Linked DNA regions of Homo sapiens: regions 1 and 2 are each linked to region 3. Evidence: promoter capture Hi-C in 16 types of primary human blood cells and fetal thymus (Javierre and others, 2016). All regions are on one chromosome and are shown on one strand. Each heading gives the region's core, a stretch centred on a gene start or on the middle of the fragment in contact. The rest is flanking DNA. Distances are from core to core; before and after follow the strand shown.

Region 1 (4,737 bases), core at 194-2,693, about 27 Mb before region 3:
CAAAAATCCTTCTTACTTCAGAAGGTAAAAGAAGTAAGTGATTCCTACAGGCTGTATCCAAAACCAAATCAAGTTGGAGGGAGAAAATACTCCAAATTAAGTTGGAGGGAAAAAAATACTTTCCCTTTCCGTTTTTTTTTTTTTTTTTGTCCCTCCCTTCCCCCCGCCCACCATCCCAATTCTGTTCTCAGGAGGGGAAAGGTTTCATTCTCCCCCAAACTCAGACTTCTCAATCCTTATCCATTACCAATTTACCAACTAACTGAGACTGTGTAGAATCTTCCTCTGGAAAAAAGGGAAGTGTATGAATTCTGAGTAGTGAGTTGGTTGGTCAGTGGCGTGTGAAGTAACCTGATGAAGCTTAGCGTGGGTTTTTTATTTTACTGGGGGCAGCATATTGGGGAAGAGAAGGATAACCTTACTAAACCGCTTGGGTACGCCAACCCTGTGCAATAGATATTAGCAACATAGCTAACCATACATGGTTAGTAAATACAACCCACACCTAACTGATGCATGTAAACATTCCACATTACAGTGAAATATATTGGTGTATTAATGCATTTTAATAATTATGGTATTATTTTGATACCTTTCAAAGTGTTTGGAATAATTGTGCAGATAGTCAGATCAACCAAAACCTACCAGTTAAATACTATCCTTTAACTGCTTTCTTAACCTAAACCAATCTTGGAAAGGTAGGATTAGAGGCCAGAAAGTTAGGATTAAAGTGTGTTGGATGGATAGATCAGCACAATTTCATCCATGTTGGTGGTAAGGCTTTTCATTAAGTGTGTTGATGCTTCCCTTTTAAATTGTTTCCGCTTAAATAATCTAACTGTCCTTTCTCAAGCATATTGGTCAAGATGATCAATACCAGATATCTTAAGTGGCAGCTGAAGAGAATTAAAGAGATTAAAAAAAAAACCTGATATTCAGTCCAACCGAATTCTGCTACTGTATTAGCTGAGGAGGCTTGAGCCAACCACTTGACCACTTGGAGTCTGAATCGCCTTATCTATAAAAACGGGGATCCATTGAGAAATTATAATCAGATATTTTCCAGAATCCTCTCCCATCCCAGCTCCTATCTCCCCCTTCAGCCCTCAGGTCGGCTGCCACTCACACTGACCGCCATCTGTGCCCCTCACAATGACACCAGCGTGGCCCTGCCTCCCTTCCGCGCGGCCCCGCCTCTCGCCCCGCCGAGGCCCCGCCTCTCACACCAAGGTCCCGCCTTCCTCCTGTTCTTCCCGGCCAAGGCCTACCTTCCTCCCACGCGGCCCGCCTCTTTCCCCGCCAAGCTCCCGCCTTTCTCCTGCGCGGCCCGCCTCTCTCCTCGCCAAGGCCCCGCCTTCCTTCCTCGGGGCCTCGCCTCTCACCCCGCCGAGGCCCCACCCCCTCCCGCGCGGCCCTTTCCGGCACAGAGCCCACCCCTAGCCCATGCGAAGCGGCGGCCGCCGGCACCGCCCCCGCCGCGCTCCCGCTTGCCGCAGCCTGCGTCGTCTGCCGCCACCGCGCGCCTTCACTGACCTACACCACCGCCGCCGCCGCCGCCGCCGCCGGGCTCGCTGGCTGGCCCGGTGCGGGCGGCGGACTCCCGCCGGAGAGGACTGCCAGCGCCGCCGCCGCCGCCGCTTCGGCCCGGGCCCGGGCCCCGACCCCGTCCCGGGCCCCAGCGCCGGCCGCCCGCCCGGTCGGGCGATGAAGTGTCACTATGAGGCGCTGGGGGTGCGGCGCGACGCCAGCGAGGAGGAGCTCAAGAAGGCCTATCGGAAGCTGGCCCTGAAATGGCACCCGGGTAAGTACCTGTCCCGCAGCCCCCGCGGCCACTCGGAGAAGCCCGGCCCTCCCCGACCTTCCCTTCCCCCGGGCGGACTCCGCGGAGCCAGCAGAGAGGGACCTGGCGGCCTAGGAGCTCCTTGCCCCGCCCGGCCAGTGCCCGGAGCCGCCCTGCCCGTCTCGGTGGGCGAAGCGCTCTGCCCTGGCGCACCCCGGCTCACACCCCATCTCCTCATACCCGCGACCCCGGCCCCGCATCGCCACTGTAGGGGGAAAACTGCAGTCCAACAACCTCACTTGCTCCCGCTACCGGGTCGCAGACACCACGAGGGAGCAGTCGGGAACTCGGAACTCAGACCTGCCCCAGGCTTGCTTTTCCCTGCGTCCCTTGCAGCGCAGCCTCTCGGTGTTTTTCCTCCGCTGCCCTCCACCTCGTCCGGGAATCCCAGATACTTCAACCTGATGTATGGCTCTTTTCGTTTCTTAGTTAAGAAGTTAAGACACGGGAGCTAGTAAAATATCTTTTCAATAGGGATGCGCTTTTTTCGCTGTTTTTTTTTTCTTTTAATAAGCTGTTTAAGCAGACCTTGTACTTCACTTTGGACATGATTCTGCCGGGGAAGGTTTTAATCAGGCGGCTTCCCCAGTAAAGTTTGTATGTTTACTTAGAAGTATCCTTCCTTTGGATGTTTCATTGGTCTGTAATCCAGGCCTGTGTGACTTTTATGAAGTAATCTGATCTTCCAGGCTGGGAAACTAAGAGAGTAGTTGACTTTCAGCTTTTTGAGGTTCATATGAAGAGGCTTTCATATTAGCATTCATCAGTAAACACGGTTACAGAGTATCCAATATATGCAAGTCACTGCACTCTACTAAGTAGATTTGGAAATGCTGAGACAGGGGTCTTAGAGTCTTGTTAGGAAAACAACTTTCTGCCTTACACAAATGAAAAGTTAAATACAACTGCCAGAAAAAAATCGCAACATACATAATTGGTGGTTAGATTAATGGAACAACTAATATATGCTCCAGGAATTCAGGGAGGGAGTTACCATTTTGTATTGAGTCTTCCCCTTCTCAGAGGAGTTTGGACTGGATCGTAGAGGAATGCAATTTGGAAAAGTGAACTCAACAGTATGGAGGATAGCATGGTGGAGGACAAAAGATGTTCCGGGGGACAGTTTGACTGAAGGTGGTGTGTATTGCAGGTCTGAAAAATAGGGATTATGAGAGGAGTGGAAGGAAAGGTCAGGGACCCAAAGTCAAAAGGGAATGGCTATGGTGATGGAGTGAGAGATAGAGGTGTGGGTCTGTTACTTAAAGTTATGCTTACCAACAGAGGCGTGAAAAAATGTGATTATAAATATATTAGAAGAGCAGAAGTAAATGAACTGATGTTCATCATAGCAGTAAGTCAGAAGATACAGCCAAAATTAATAAATGTAAAAATAGTGTAGAAGTATATTCTTAGAGTTTGGGTTAGTGTAGAAGCATATTCTTAGGAGTTTGGGTTGTTACTGTTAGAAATCAAGTTAGGAATTAGAAGGAAGTTCGGAATTCCTTGACTTTCTAGGTGGGAAAGGGTAAATGAAGTAGCGAATGCTGTGACCAAAAGCGTATGTAATTTTCTGAAGAGTGATTTTAAATCAGATTGTATTTCTTGAGTACAAGAGTAGTTTGAAATCAGATTGTATTTCTTGTAATCTTGAATATTAGCCCAAGGACTGTGAAATTTGCTTCGCTAAATAAGGGAGAGTTGTGGCTGGTTTTATTAAGCTGCCATGGGAGAGTACTATGAAGGCAACTTAGTGGATTGAAGAGGGCTGGAGACAGAAGTTAGGGAGAGTCCGCAGTGGACAGACAGGTAAGGGCCCAAGCCAGGCTTGGGGTCAGCGGGAGGGGGAAAGCGCAAGGGGAGGAGATGTTGGGAAGGAAAAATGACCAGATTTGGTGATTAATTAGAAATCAGTGCTAGGAAGAAGCATGCAAATATGACTAAAGTATCAGTTAACTCCTTTGAAACCAAACCTGTTAGGAACTGAATGCAAATATCTTCTCTAAATATCATCATAATTTATGGCATCAGTGTGATGGTATCTGAGAATGGGCAGCAGGAAGCCCTGAAGAGCCATGTTCTAGGGCGGCAAAACTATTTGTAGATAAGACATTGCTGTCATGTTTTCTTGTAACTTCTTAGAAGGGAAGTATTGAGCTGTAGCTTAAAGAACTTTAGTGTGCTCCGGCCAGGTGCGGTGACTCACACCTGTAATCCCAGCACTTTGAGGGGCTGAGGTGGGCGGATCACCTGAGGTCAGGAGATGGAGACCATCCTGGCCAACATGGTGAAACCCTGTCTCTACTAAAAACACAAAAATTAGCTGGGCGTGGTGGCGCACGCCTGTGGTCCCAGCCACTTGGGAGGCTGAGGCAGGAGAATCGCTTGAACCCAGGAGGCAGAGGTTGCAGTGAGCCAAGATCGCGCCACTGCACTCCAGCCTGGTGACAGAGCGAGACTCCATCTCAAAAAAAAAAAAAAAAACGAACTTTAGTGTTCTCCATAGTCAATTCAAAATGCTTTACGTTCTGAATATATTAGTTGTCTATTGCTGTGTAACAAATTACCAATACCTCAGGGCTTAAGACAACAAACAACAAAAACAGCAAGCCTATGTTGACTATATGGACTCCCACAGTTTCTAAGGATGAGAATCTGGGAGCGGCTTTGCTAGGTGGTTTTGGCTTTCTCATTGTCTGAAAGAACCTGCTTCCAGCTCACCAACTCACCAGCTCACCAACCACCAACTCATGTGGTTGTGGCAGGCCTCAGTGCTCTGCCGGCTATTGGCCTCCTTCACCCCATGAGCTTCTCCAGCTTCTCCATAGGCAGCCTGAGTTGCTCATGCTATGGCAGCTGGCCACTCCCAGAGTGATCAAGAGAGAGGGAAAGCCCAAGGT
Region 2 (4,897 bases), core at 898-3,397, about 24 Mb after region 3:
TAGAACAACATTTTGGGTAGGAGTCAACTAGACAACTCTGCTCCACACAGCAGTGACTGTGGTCACTCAGCAATATTCAGCTGAGGGCGGGGCTGGGCTGAAGTGTCCAAGATAGCTTCACTCACATGCCCGGCACTTGAGTGTAACCACCACCCTCCCCCATATTTACATAGGTATAAACTTTTTTTTTTTTTTTTTTTGAGATGGAGTCTCGCTCTGTCGCCCAGGCTGGAGTGCAGTGGTGTGATCTCGGCTCACTGCACGCTCTGCCTCCCGGGTTCACACCATTCTCCTGCCCCCGCCTCCCAAGTAGCTGGGACTACAGGCGCCCGACACCACGCCCGGCTAATTTTTTGTATTTTTAGTAGAGACGGGGTTTCACCGTGTTAGCCAGGATGGTCTCAATCTCCTGACCTCGTGATCCGCCTGCCTTGGCCTCCCAAAGTGCTGGGATTACAGGCGTGAGCCACCGCGCCCGGCCAAACATATTTTTTTTTTTTGTATTTAACTTACCACAAAGCCCATGAGAAGGCAGACAGTTCTGAAACCATATTCTGGAATCTCTGCCCTGCAGGTCCCTAAAGAGTTAACTCAAAGCCAGATACCCAATGGAGGCTCAATTAATGTGAATTAGAAGCAACAATGAACCAAATCCACAGATAACATTACTCACACTAGATTGAAAAGTGTAATCTAGAAATATTAAGTGTGAAAAAGTTTCTCAATTATAGTTAAATCAGAATTCTTTAATATGTAAAGGCAGTGAACGGAATGTTAAAAAAAAATGGAATGTCACATAACTTCTATAAATTAGGTGGTAGAGGACACCAGTTATGATGCATTTCATGAACCCCTACTCAAAAAGAAGCTACTTGTTGAAACAAAATATGAATTTAAGTGTTTTTTTTAAGTGTTTTTTTGGGGGGGAGGGGCATGGTTGTTCTCTTCCAAAAACTGAAAAAAAAAAAAAAAAAAAAGACGAAAAGAGCATATATGTTATGCCCTTTTCAAAGCAAACCTTAGGTCTTATTGGAATTGTTTCCTAATGCTATATAAATGAGACACGTGAGGCAATATACACTCCCCCACAGATGAATAACATAACATTTAGGTTACCAGGGCCTTTCACAATCTAACCTAACACCACTTTCCCAGGTTCATTTATCACTGGTTTCTTCTCAATACCTTCTGGTCAAAGACCACCAGAAGCACACATGTAATTGACAAACGGGGTTTATTATTCATTGCAGTAAGGGTTCTCTGTAAAATATTAGAAAATGCTTATTGGATTTGGGATTTTTTTCTCCTAATATTGGCTACCTTACCAAATCTTAGGAGGAAGAAAGGCTAGATCAAGGCTAAGATTGTAATTGGTAAAGAAGCAGAAGTCATCAAATTAAACCAGATAGGGTGATGTCCGGTCATTTTCGTGGCTTGGACAATGTTTTATCTGTGTTCAGATGTGATTACACAGTGATCATATTCTTTTCTTAATGAACACTGTCAGAGTGGTCTTGTTGGATGCTAATGCTTGCTGAAATTGTGTACGTTCATCAGGCGGACACCAGTTCCTAGTCCAGGCTAGCTCCAGGTGTCAGAGGCCACTTTTCCCTTCTACTCCTCACACATGCTGTACTCATACCAGACTTGAGTTTTCCCTGCCCTTTGTTCTTCCTTCTTTTTTATTCGATTCCCATTATCTTTAGTGATCATTCCCTTAGCATTTCAGTTTTCTCTCTGAAGTCCTTTGTGCTGCACGTTGTTTGATTACTTGTGTTTATGCTTTGTTTCTTCAGCTAGGATCATTAGCACATATCTCTCAGCATTGGCAAAAGTCCTCGAAATCATTGACACCTAGCATATACTTTATTTTTAAAAAAGAAAGAAAGAAGAGAAAAGGGATGGGTTTATTGTCCTTTTCAACAGACTAGAGTATACGGGGTGAAACTGCTTCACTTGATTCAATAAAATCGTTTCCGGTAACAGGCCCCAGGAATCCTAGACCTAAGCCTGGCGCGAAACTACATTTCCCACAATCCTTCGGGGGCTGATAAGGCTCCGCAATGGTCTGAACTACAATTCCCACAATCCAGGGCGATTTCCGCTTTGTCGCGTTTCCTCAAGGCTCCGCCCCATTTCCCATCTTTCTTTTCAGTCCTTGCGCACCGGGGAACAAGGTCGTGAAAAAAAAGGTCTTGGTGAGGTGCCGCCATTTCATCTGTCCTCATTCTCTGCGCCTTTCGCAGAGCTTCCAGCAGCGGTATGTTGGGCCAGAGCATCCGGAGGTTCACAACCTCTGTGGTCCGTAGGAGCCACTATGAGGAGGGCCCTGGGAAGGTTAGTGTGTAAGGGGCACGGCTTCGTTGGGGGAGGGGGCGCTTGGCTGTGACTCGCGCACCTGCAAGGCCGCCTCCGGGCTGTGGCGTGGGAGATGATAGCCAGAAACCAGGCTGAGACGCAGACTAGCATTCCACTTAGCCCAAGGACCAGTGAGGAAGCTGGGCATCCTAGCGCGTAGCCGCTAAAGGAATGGGCAGGTAGATCCGGAAGCCCTGCCTCCATCAGCCACCTGACGCCCCCTCCCCCGCCCCGCAGAAAGCCCTGAGATGGCTCCGGGAGGCCACGGCTGTAGGTGTGTTGGTTAAATCCGAGCTGGAGGTCATCGGACCCGAAATGAAGGTCATTGGAAAATCATGAGGAAATCAGGGCCTCTGGTTATGGAACAGGCTTTTTAAACTAGCTGCCTAAGTTAGAAGTACTAACCCTTCACCTCAGTTAAGGCTGGGTTTGGCCTCAGGTGTAAATAACTTAAACCACATAGCAGTAACAATCTCGGAGGGTCACACGAGGCCTAGTCATAAAGGCCAGAGAAGGTGCTTGGTAATGAAAAACAAACAAACAAAAAAAACTGTGGGCCAGGTGCGGTGGCGCACGCCTGTAATCGGGAGGCTAAGGCGTTCGGATCACCTGAGGTCAGGAGTTCCAGACCAGCCTGGCCAACATGGCGAAACCCTGTCTCTACTAAAAAGTACAAAAAAATTAGCCGGACGTGGTGGTGTGTGCCTCTAATCCCAGCTACTCGGGAGGCTGAGGCAGGAGAATCGCTTGAACCCGGGAGGTGGAGGTTGCAGTGAGCCGAGATCGGGCCACTGCACTCCAGCCTGGACAGAGCGGGACTCCGTCTCAAAAAAAAAAAAAAAGAAAAAAAAAGAGCTGTATTGCACTTAACATTGCCATGTATCTTCTAAGGTGACTACTTAGGACAGTAGTTTTTTCGATTTTCTAAAGTAAGAAACTTCTCACTATTTGACGTTTGAGTCCTCAAGACCATTCATTGCCTAGTGCTTAGTAAAGCCAGATTATTTCTTGCCATGTAGTGTTTTGTGATGAAGGTCATAGGATTTGAAAGATAAATGTTTAAAACGATGTTATGATTTATGGCATATGTTAACCTGATGATGTAAAATATAACTAGCATTTCCTGTATACTTGTATTTTGATTATTAAGCAGATGATTTGAGATTCAATTTCGATTACTTTTTCTCTTTTTTTCCAACAGAATTTGCCATTTTCAGTGGAAAACAAGTGGTCGTTACTAGCTAAGATGTGTTTGTACTTTGGATCTGCATTTGCTACACCCTTCCTTGTAGTAAGACACCAACTGCTTAAAACATAAGGATGTTTCAGTTCCTCCATTTAACAGGTAGTTAGTGGATTTCTAATCATGTTAAAGCAGGCCTTTTTATTAAGTAGCCTCTTCCCCATCACCCAGAACACACACACAAATACATTGTTGTGTAGGGCTGATTCCTGAGGTTATGTGTAGATGTGGCATTGGTGGAGACTAGTTGTAAACCTATATAAAAATATTTCAATAATGGCCAGTGTTTATTGAATACTACTGCTTATCAGGTACACTTTACATCGATATCTCATGTTCTCTAGCAAGCTTGTGAGGCGGATGATAGTAACCCCATCTGAGACACAGAGATGTTAAGTTGTTCAACATCTCATAACTAGTATAATGGTGGACCAGGACTCTTGCCCAGGCAGTTTCTTGTTGCAGAACTCACACTTTTAACCAGGTAAAACTGATAAACTGATTAATGTTACTCTATCTTGAACACTGTTACTAGAACAGTAGCTGAGAATGTGTCTTTTAAAACACTATAAACATTTCCATTTCTTTTAGAAAGTGGTCACTGTGCTCCTAGTTTTTAAATTGGCTTACAATACTTGTTTAAGTTGTGAAAAATCCCTGAAGATAAAACCCTTCTAGTGCTCCTTGATACATAAGTCCCAGATAATTATGCAATTGTAAATCTGTGCCTCACCAACTCAGCCATGTTGGGAAACTCAAACTTTTAAATATACTTTCCTCATTAAGGCAGTGGTTCTTAAATGAGGATGATTTTACAACACAATGGGGCATTTGGCAATGTGAGACATTTTTGATCGTTCCAACTTGGGGGCAAAATTACCAGTGGTGCTGAGGTTGAGAAGCCTTGTGTCAAGGGGATATGTTAATATATGCTCAAAGGAGTCGTTCATATTGGAAGGTTAGCAGATTTGCTGTGTGTGGATAAAATATTTAGCTTAATTGTCATCAGAGTTTCTCAGAGTAATACTATAGAACACTAGGATGATTGGAAAGAGTGTCATAGTTTAGAGGGGGAATAACTTATCCAAGCTACTAATGCGGAAAGGTTGCGGTGCATGTGATGAAGCAAATCAGTATGAATGAATTCATGATACTGTAAACGCTTTCTGATGTACTACTCAAACTGATAGAAAATATTTTCATGAAACTACATGATTTCTGTTAAATGAATGGGATTTTTAAAATGCCATTAATTTCTGTTTTTATTTTGCAGATATGAAGAGCATTTTAAGAGGT
Region 3 (4,325 bases), core at 64-2,563:
TTTCATCAGATGCTCAAAGGAAACTATGAGCTAAAAAGGTTAAAATAGTACATGACCCTTCTTTCTTTTTTTCTCAGTTTTCAAATGACACGAAGCCTGACAAGATCCTTTAACTATGTAATGCTCTTTCTACAGCTCCAGGATGCTTTCCTTGCTTTTAACCATAAGTGTAATCTGCACCGTGTGTATTTCACTTCCTAACACCCAATCATCCATAACCATAAGAGAACATCAATAACTCAGAAAGCAGTAATACTCCAAGCAATTTATATGTGGTACTAGCATACACCAAATAATTTATATGTAGTACTATATGTTTTTCTGGGGAACAAACTTTCTAATGTGTAGTTTAGACATAAATAGATGGAGTACATAAAAACTAAGTGATCAAAAAGGTGATTAGAAATAGAAGAATAATTATCTTGAACAAATACAAAGGTCCAGCTATAAAGTAGATAATCCACAAAAAGACACAGAATTGGGAACCAGGAGAAACTCAGACCCACAAAATGAAGCTTATCATGCAGAAGACAGCCCAAGAATCCTAGACAATTATTTGATTCATTCAACAAATATTTACAGAGCATCTAATTTACGGCAGGCAGACTTTCTGCGCTTATGTATTCATAGGAATAAAATTAATAAACCAACAACTCTCTCCCTTTCCTCTTCCACACCCACCTTATCGATAATGCTGTTAATAATGAGAGGATTTTTCAAAATGTGCTGCCCAATCCCCGTGTTGAACATGAGTCCTGTAAGAAAATACGAAACAGCATTAATTTTCCTACTGAGATTAGATATTAGGCAGTACCAGAGAAGAAAGCTGCATGGGTATGGGGAAGATTTCTGCGCCAACCAGGGCCACGAAACGTCACGCCAGGACTGACAAACTCTTTATAAGTTCATCCTCCAGCTGGAAAGGAAGTCAGCGGCGACGCGCAGGGCCTGCGGCCGAGTCGGGGACCCACCCCTGCCTTCCGCGCTCACGGGAGCGCGTCCTGACCGGCCTCTGCCGATCAGGTCTTGGTCCGCACCCCAGGCTAGGTCCTGCCGGAAGACCTGACCCGACCGACCCCAGCTTCCTCGCGGGGATCCGCACCTCCAGCGCTCTTCAGCTCCCGGCGCTGCTCCTGCCGCCCGCGGCGGCGGCCGATGGCCCCCGACTTGACCTTCGGCATCTCGGCAGAAAGCGGGCCCACAGGCCCGGGACGTCAAGGAGGACCAAAGAGGGCTAGCGTGAGAAAGCCACCACGTGGGGATCGCCGCCACGCGCCGCCCGCACCACTCTGGCCCAAGCGCCGGAGGGGCAAGGGTCCGCCCCCTCCCGTACGCTCTGAGCTCCTCCTCCAGAAAAAGGGCGGACCTTGGAGCCCACTGACTGCCGGGAATTGGAGTCACAGAGGGAGGAAGGCCGAACCGCGGGAGCCTACAGATCCCAGAAGACACCGCGCTACCGAGGACTGCAGTCTGGAGTTGGAGCCCTTGTCCCAACCAGGGCTGGATAAGAAGGTGTTGGTGTGGTGCTCTCGGTGTTGCGAAGGCTGTTTAAGTTATATGATGAGGTTAAGCCTATGGATGTTTTAGTAGCCTAGGTTCTGGGATCGCTGAGGTCCAAAGAAGTATTCACGTGCCTCGCTCCTGTTTTCCTGAAGCTTGTGGGGGTGGGAAACCCGGGATTTGGGGATGAGCTTGCTCTTTTGTGGGAATGCATTTTTTGCTGCTTGCCCTGGGGAAAAGAACTGCGAGAATGGAATTAACGTCTGGTTTCGCTAGGGCTACTGGTTGCTTCTACTAAGAATAGAAGAGCCGGGCGCGGAGGCTCACGCCTGTAATCCCAGCACTCTGGGAGGCAGAGGCGGGCGGATCACAAGGTCAGGAGATCGAGACCATCCTGGCTAACACGGGGAAACCCCGTCTCTACTAAAAATACAAAAAATTAGCCGGGCGTGGTGGTGGGCGCCTGTAGTCTCAGCTACTTGGGAGACTGAGGCAGGAGAGTGGCGTGAACCCAGGAGGCGGAGGTTGCAGTGAGCCGAGATCGCGCTACTGCACTCCAGCCTGGGCGGCAGAGCGAGACTCCGTCTCAAAAAAAAAAAAAAAAAAAAAGGAATAGAAGAATAATTATCTTAAACAGATACAAAGCTCCAGCTACAAAGTAGATAATCCACAAAAAGACAGAATTGAGAACCAGGAGAAACTCAGACCCACAGAATGAAGCTTATCGTGCAGAAGACAGCCCGTGAATCCTAGAAAATTATTTGATTCATTTAACAAATAATTCAACAAATTCCTTTTGTGCCTCATCATTCACTCCGTAAACATTTATTGAGCTCCAACTGTGTATCAAACACTGCTAGGGATTCTAAGTAAGAAACTTATTTCAAAGTGTATTATATTGACAGAGATGGACAGAAACTCCAAAACGCTGTAAATACGATAACGTATTGGTCGTTGTGACAGGACAGTGTACCTGACTATAAACTCCGTGTGTACCAGGGCCATAATATCCACATCTGTTTTGCCAGCCAGTGTAATGGCTCTTTTAAATTTTTCTGTGTGTATTCTGTTTGGTTGAAGAAATAGCTTCTTCCTGTCATTACTAAAGCTAACTCTCTTTTGAGCAATTCATTGTGTACATTCCCAAACCTTGGTCTTAGGCCCTTCTTTCTTTGATGTAGTTCTAAGTCAGAAAAAAAATCTCGTATACCCTAGTAGCATCTTCAAGTATATGTTTCATTTCATCAATCATTGTTATTCCACAATTCTAAAGAGTACACTGTGCTAGGCACTTCCAAATGTTAATAGGATGGACATGGCCTGGAGAGGTGGCTCATGCCTGTAATCCCAGCACTTTGAGAGGCCAAGGCGAGCGGATCACTTGAGCTGAGAAGTTTGAGATCAACCTGGGCAACAAAGTGAGACCCCGTCTCTACAAAAAATACAAAAATTAGCCAGGCGTGGTGGTGCAGGCCTGTAGTCTCAGCTACTCGGGAAGCTGAGGTGGGAGCCTCACTTGAGCCCGAGAATTTGTAGTGAGCCAAGATTGCACCAACCTGGGCGACAGCATGATACCCTGTTTAAAAAAAAAAAATTAACATGACACAAAACCCTGTGTGTGATTTGTTATTGTTGTTGTTGTTGGGTTTTTTGGTTTTGTTTTTTTGAGACGGTCTCACTCTGTCACCCAGGCTGGAGTGCAGCGGCATGATCTCAGCTCACTGCAACCTCCGCCTGCCGGGCTCAAGCGATGCTCTCACCTCAGCCTCCCGAGTAGCTGAGACGACAGACATGAATCATCTTGTCCAGCTAATTTTTGTAATTTTTGTAGAGGCGGGGTCTCACTTTGTTCCCCAGGCTGATCTCAAACTTCTCAGCTCAAGTGATCTGCCTGCTTTGGCCTCTAGGTTGCATTTCTTCTGTGAAATAAAAGGCAAGTTTTTCTGTAGAGAAGGAGCTGTGGAGGTGGTAGGACAAGGGGCATGAGTGCGGAGAAGGTTTGAAGATCCTTTATGCGCAATGGGAGAGGAAGATTAGAGGGAACTCAAGAAGACATGGCATGTCTTCCAGCTAAATGTGGAGCCCAGTATCTCCAATGTGTACTGCTGTGTAACCACAGCCTGGAGACAAGAGCAGAGAAGGCAAAATTGTTCTTTTGATTCATCAATGAATGACCACTATTGCTCCCTAGAATAGCATTGTAGGCCTTTCAAATTAAGTTCCTATTTACCTTACTTATTTACTTCCCAACGTTATCAAGTTCCTTTTTCTTCCTTAAACATCTTTATACCTCGGCTTTGTGAGTGCTCTTCCTTTTGCATTCTCGACCTTCCCCTGGCTAACTTTTGTTTGCTGTTAAAGACACAACTCATATATATAATATAAATATATATATTTAAATATAAATATAAACATATATAAATATAAATATATATATATATATATATTTTAAGATAGAGCCTTGCTCTGTCACCCAGGCTGCAGTGCAGTGCCATGATCTTGGCTCACTGCAACCTCAGCCTCCCAGATTCAAGCTATTCTCATGCCTCAGCCTCTCAAGTAGCTGGGATTGCAGGCGTGCACCACCACCACGCTGGCTAATTTTTTTTTTTTTTTTTGTATTTTTAGTAGAGATGGGTTTTCACCATGTTGCCCATGCTGGTCTTGAACTGGCCTCAAGTGGTCTGCCCGCCTTGCCCTCCCAAAGTGCAGGGATTACAGGCATGAGTTACCGTGCCTGGCTTCAAATGTTATATTTTTAAAATAGTGGCCCAGGCTGGGTTGCAGTGAGGCAGACGTTGCAGTGAGTTGAGTTTGCTCCACTG

What was found. Contacts are between HindIII fragments. The CHiCAGO score rates a contact against its expected background, and 5 or more counts as called.
Region 1: a contact is called between the fragment with the promoter of DNAJC21 here and the fragment with the promoter of DIMT1 in region 3, in 1 of 17 cell types (activated CD4 T cells). The highest score is 6.5, in activated CD4 T cells.
Region 2: a contact is called between the fragment with the promoter of COX7C here and the fragment with the promoter of DIMT1 in region 3, in 3 of 17 cell types (naive B cells, activated CD4 T cells and total CD4 T cells). The highest score is 6.9, in naive B cells.

What each region holds. Positions count from the first base shown.
Region 1 is chr5:34,928,116-34,932,852 of GRCh38, forward strand. DNAJC21 (DnaJ heat shock protein family (Hsp40) member C21) reads left to right here and starts at 1,444. Exons shown (of 12, transcript NM_001012339.3): 1 at 1,444-1,801. The coding sequence starts at 1,705. It overlaps LOC124900961 (a long non-coding RNA gene), which reads right to left and starts at 1,566. Exons shown (of 2, transcript XR_007058731.1): 1 at 1,534-1,566; 2 at 1-1,018. RefSeq lists silencers at 1,120-1,589, 1,600-1,669, 1,700-1,899 and enhancers at 1,928-2,573, 2,040-2,209. The HindIII fragment of the contact is 5,598 bases long and covers 359-4,737 here.
Region 2 is chr5:86,615,794-86,620,690 of GRCh38, forward strand. It overlaps COX7C (cytochrome c oxidase subunit 7C), which reads left to right and starts at 2,148. Exons shown (of 3, transcript NM_001867.3): 1 at 2,148-2,337; 2 at 3,560-3,703; 3 at 4,875-4,897. The coding sequence starts at 2,263. The coding sequence ends at 3,676. SNORD138 (small nucleolar RNA, C/D box 138) reads left to right here and starts at 4,713; the gene lies at 4,713-4,775. RefSeq lists enhancers at 1,816-1,895, 1,907-2,572, 1,959-2,253, 2,186-2,275, 2,573-3,238. The HindIII fragment of the contact is 5,230 bases long and covers 1-3,947 here.
Region 3 is chr5:62,402,592-62,406,916 of GRCh38, forward strand. It overlaps DIMT1 (DIM1 rRNA methyltransferase and ribosome maturation factor), which reads right to left and starts at 1,314. Exons shown (of 12, transcript NM_014473.4): 1 at 1,103-1,314; 2 at 682-755. The coding sequence starts at 1,181. RefSeq lists an enhancer at 1,235-1,524. The HindIII fragment of the contact is 1,140 bases long and covers 514-1,653 here.